Regions from separate parts of the Homo sapiens genome. Here region 2 is linked to region 1. The links are contacts of gene promoters, found by promoter capture Hi-C in human tissues and cell types (Jung and others, 2019). All regions are on one chromosome and are shown on one strand. The core of a region is centred on a gene start or on the middle of the fragment in contact, and the rest is flanking DNA. Distances in the headings are between cores, read along the strand shown.

What was found. The method cuts DNA at HindIII sites, captures the fragments that hold promoters and counts their contacts. A contact is called where the count stands out against the background at its distance.
Region 2: a fragment that was not itself captured here is called in contact with the fragment with the promoter of SLC39A12 in region 1 in 2 of the 25 tissues and cell types used here (IMR-90 fibroblasts and lymphoblastoid cells).

What each region holds. Positions count from the first base shown.
Region 1 is chr10:17,950,596-17,953,194 of GRCh38, reverse strand. SLC39A12 (solute carrier family 39 member 12) reads right to left here and starts at 1,277. Exons shown (of 13, transcript NM_001145195.2): 1 at 1,170-1,277; 2 at 1-4. The HindIII fragment of the contact is 7,346 bases long and covers 1-2,599 here.
Region 2 is chr10:18,176,937-18,179,535 of GRCh38, reverse strand. All of the region lies in intron 2 of CACNB2 (calcium voltage-gated channel auxiliary subunit beta 2), which reads right to left. Among named protein-coding and RNA genes, the nearest start is that of CACNB2, 38 kb to the right of the region's middle. The HindIII fragment of the contact is 7,347 bases long and covers 1-2,599 here.

The sequences.
Region 1 (2,599 bases), core at 28-2,527:
ATTTCTGTGGTAAAGGGGAAAAATAAAGCCTTCAATTATTGTGCCTGCAACATGTTTGAAAGGATTCATTAATTGGGTGGCTAAGCTGATTTGCAATGACAAGCTGTTTCTACACAGCGGGGGTCTGTAGGTAATTTCTAACCCCAAATGGCAGGAAAGCACCATGGCTGTAGACTTTCAAACTGCACAGCAGCCAAAAAGCTTGCTAGATTCTCTCTCCCTAAACTAAACATAGCGTCACGTAAGTTTCTCCATTTACCAACAGGTGGTACAAGTTATAGGACCCAGGTTGGGAAACACCTTATGTTTATCCCATTATAAAGAACTCCAAGTGATTCATGGTCCTCATGAAAAAGAGAAAATAAATTCTACTAAATGACCAACATCATGTTGAGTTTAAAAGTTTTAGGCCAGGCGCGGTAGCTCACACCAGTAATCCCAGCACTTTGGGAGGCTGAAGCAGGCAGATCACGAGGTCAGGAGTTTGAGACCAGCCTGGCCAATATGGTGACACCCCCGTCTCTACTGAAAATACAAAAATTAGCCAGGTATGGTGGCACGTGCCTGTAGTCCCAGTTACATGGGAGGCTGAGGCAGAAGAATTGCTTGAACCCGGGAGGCGGGGGTTGCAGTGAGCCAAGATCGTGCCACTGCACTCCAGCCTGGGCGACAGAACAAGACTCCATCTCAAAAAAAAAAAAAAGAAAAAAGAAAAAAGAAAAAAAAAGAGTTTTAGACAAGGAAAAGCACTAGAAGAAAATAGTAATGTTCAGAAAACACAGGTCTTTTTTTTAGTTTACTAAGAATCAAGATTCTAGAGCAGGAAGCATCTTAGAAAAACAGAATTTCGAGACCTCAAGAACATGACACACACACACACACACACTCACTCAGTGGTGACTAAAGGAGTGGGGGATGACTTTAGAGCCAATCAACTTCCTGGAAAAAAAAATTATCTTTCTGTTGATGGCTTAAGGCATGTAAAATGTTAACAGCATCTCATGTCCGATCCTGGCCCAGAGATGAGCTGGTAAATGACTGTGGGCTAGTAACAAAGGTACTGGGATTACTTTTATGAGTTAAAAACAACAACAACACTTTAAGGTTGTTATGTTAGCAATTTAAAAGTGACAGAGGATGATGCAAGCATTTCTAACCCCAGTGCTTACCTTCAGAAGAAAGATAAACGATTCTTTATCTGGAGCTCCACAGCCTTTTAAATCCTGGAGAGTATTTCACAGTTACAAAGTTCCCTGTTTTTAAAATTCTTTGACTGTGCACTGGGAGCTAGAGAGGATTATTTCAGCCCAGAAAAGTTTTCAGTTGCTATGGAGAGAGCTGCTCTGAAGGTAACAATGAAGGTGGATAAAAGGGAGAACTTTCTGTCTGGTAGATTTTCAAGGTAATCAAATCAGTGTGGTTCATGAATTTAACTTTTTAGATCAAGAATTAACCAATTTTCTTAGGCTCACCTACTGTCACTTGCCTTTCAAGGGACAGAATCTAGGTCAAAGGATTTCACCTCGCAGAATAGAAAGACTTCAGTGTTAGATGAAGATTTTTTCCTCTCCAGTTGATTCTGTAATAACTGTTTCATCCAGGCTCAAACCAAAGATTTGTTGAAAAGATAGGCTCTTTGGAACCATATTTGTTTTGCAAGATGCAGAAGCCTAAAAGATTGAAGTCTTTCGTAATGAGATGCTTTCAAATGAAAAGTATTGGTTGAAGGAATGAAATTCTTACCAGGGATGTAGGTAGCATAAATGAGGAACTTTAATCAGCTGCATATATTGTGATCACCAGCACCGGTGGTAGTTCTTACATCAGATCCTTCATGCTCCTCAAAACAAAACCTCTCAACAAATTATTAGTGAATAAATGACTAAAGGAACAAAGTGGTTCATTTTCTAGGAAGCAAGAGAAGTTAAATCCTAAGATTTCAGAGTGGGCAGAATGCATGCCCACAGTATAGGGGTTTAAGTCAGCTGGTGGGCAGGTAGAGGAAATTTGAGATCAGGATGATTAGCCTCATCACTAATTGTATATGAAACACGGGAACCCTGCGGTAGGATATTCCTGAGAGAATGCTAGTAATGAGAGATGACAACTTGCTAGCAGCCCTGGCTCGCTCTTGGCGCCTCCTCAGCCTCAGCTTCAGCTCTCTCCGTCTTCAAGGAGCCCTTCAGCCCGCCGCTGCGCTGTGGGGGACCCTCTCTGGGGCTGGCCGAGGCCGGAGCCGGCTCCCTCTGCTTGCCGGGAGGTGTGGAGGGAGAGGCGTGGGCGGGAACTGGGGCTTGATCAGAGGCTGAATCCCGTGCGTGGACCAGAACGTTGGCCACGATGGCGGGTCTCCATCTCTTTCTTGCTTCCCGTCTTTTGCTCTTGATTGTCTGGGACGAGCTCCCTCTAGGCTGCTGGAGTGCCCGGGCTAGGTGCTCCGGATAGGTGCCACAAAGTCCCGTGGCTAGTGCCAGTGAGAGGTGAAGCCAGCTGGGCTTCTGGGATGGTGGGGACTTGGAGAACTTTTCTGTCTAGCTAAAGGATTGTAAAAGCACCAATCAGCGCTCTGTGTCTAGCTAATCTGGTGGGGACTTGGAGA
Region 2 (2,599 bases), core at 26-2,525, 230 kb before region 1:
ATTACTATAGCACTTTCAGAATCATTTGGTTCCAAAAAACTGAACCTGACCACAAAAATCAAAGTTTTATTCAGCAATGACCAGGTAAGTTACAGACTAAATGGAAAGAACATAATGGTTGGGGTGGGATGCAGGGAGAAAAACAGGAACAAGAGCAGGGTAACTGACTCACTGTCCCTTTTACCCAGAGGCACGGAAGACCTTTATTAGTGGTCTTAGGAAAGCTATCACCTCCCTACAACAATTTCTCAGATAGCAAGGGCTGCTATGTCTGCTATTTATAAACCCTTTCTTTTTCTGTCCAGACTTCCTCATATATGTTTACTAGTCTTCTGCTAAAGGGTTATTCCTTTTGCTAAAAAAAGTAGAAAAAAATTAAAGTTATTGACATTTATTTTATAGTGTTTAGTTTACATTGCAATAAAAGCGTTTGTGGTTACTCAACTGGTAAAAGCCTGTTCCGCAGTAAGGCCTAGAAAATTCTAATTTGTTTATGTGAATATCTCACCCAGAGCACAGACCTGCTGGAAGGTTTCTGCCTCTTTAAAAAAAGAGTCTCAAGTGCTTTCTATAGACCCAACTTCTGCTCTATGTTTCAGCTATCCTCAACCTCCACCCTGTCCCTACAAGGTTTGGCAGCAGAAATGCCCAAGCATCTCCCAGGGGTCTATTACCAGACCTATCCAACCTCTCTTCCCTGGGGCTCAAGGGTTCACAGAGTTTCAAACAAACTTGCTAATGGCAGCTCTCCTGGCAGTCTCCATCCCCATGGCAACACAAACTTCAGAATTGAACGTAGCAAAAGCAGGAACACTGATTCATATTTCACCGAATATCTGCTCAACCTTCCATCTAAGAGGCACCCTTGCCAGATGTTTGCTTTTACCCAAAGATGTTTCTATCACCCATGCTAAATGAAACAAGCAAATAGGGAAAAGAACCTTCTCCCAAATCACTATCTTTGTGTGACCTTTCTCTAAGCTAAAAAAAATAATAAAAATAAAAGGAATCAAAAAAGAAGAAATCTGTGGGTCAACTGGATCCTTGAGAACAGGACCTCTATCTGATTAATCTCTGTATGATTTTCAGTATTTACCATGTATTTAAATTATGATATACATGCACAATTCAGATATTTAATCAACATTTCTTGAATGAGAAGGAATCTGAGAAGATTAGGCTCTAACAAAGCCTAATAGGTAGAGTTAATGCTAAAAGTGCCATTTAAAATGACTTTTAAATCTCTCTGAAGATCTCTGGCAGCAAACATCACTAAAACACAGAAAAAGAAAAGGCTCATTTCAACGGTAAAGTCCCCAATCCCTACAGGCTTATGACTTAAGGAGATAATGATAAAGTCGCATCATACTCCAGTCTACATTACCCGAATTCAACTCTATATCCTCAGTAGCAACCGCCAAGAAAAGGAGAACTTCAGGAAGTATGCATCCCAATGCAAAACCGAGATATGAGAGGAGACACCACTATTCTGCAATCAGCTTCATGCCTGTATCTTCTCCCAGGATGGTCACTGTGCCAGTGGATGGGAGTCTAGCTGCAAAATGCATATGATATGCCTCTTGAATACCTACGTATATACTGTGAAAGGAAAATAGAATCTTGGCACCCCAAACTCACTATGCCAAATGGAAAGTTAAGCTTAGAAACTGAGTCACACAAAAACTGCCTTCCTTTTTGTTCCCAAATAGCTGTAATTCCACATGCTTACTTTATCTTATGTAACATGTTAAAATGTAGATTAACCAAGCAAGAGAAGAATGCAAAATTGGCTTTTCCTGTACTCTTCTTTGCACATGTAACATGTAGATTCACTGAGTGCTAATCAGAGCCTACCAAGATGGAGCCGCTTGCCTCACTGCCTGCCTGTCCTCCTTTTCTTTTTCTTCCCCAAATGCTTGCTCTTTCTTTCTTTCTTCTTCTTCTTCTTTTTTTTTTTGAGATGGAGTCTTGCTGTGTCTTCCAGGCTGGAGTGCCGTGGCGTGATCTCAGCTCAAGAGCTGGGATTACAGGTGCCTGCCACCACACCCAGCTATTTTTTTTTTTTTTTTTGCATTTTTAATAGAGACGGGGTTTCACCACGTTGGCCAGGCTGGTCTCAAACCCCTCACCTCAAGTGATCCACCCACTTTGGCCTCCCAAAGTGCTGGGATTATAGGCATGAGCCACTGTGCCCAGCCTCTTTCTTGGTTAAATACTGAACATCCCAAAACCCTCTGTGGATAAAGCATAGGTTGCAGATCCTACTGAGGCACGTGTTTGTTTTTCTCAGGTGCATCTTCAACTATGGTAAAATACACTTCTGATGGATTGAGATCTGCTTCAGTCACTTTTTGGTTTACTACATGTATATGCACATGATTTGATGGGTGATCTGTAGGACTCTAACAGGCACTTCTGCTTCTGTATGTTCTCCTTGCTAAATGTCTTTGCAACCTAAACCCCAGCCTTAGGGTTTAGGGTTGAGGCTACACAGTGAAAACAACACTTTCCCTCAGTCACTACCTAAAATGTGGAGGGTACCTCCCTCCCTCACCTCTATACGCTTTCTCACTGCCATCACTAACAAGTTCTGGAATTC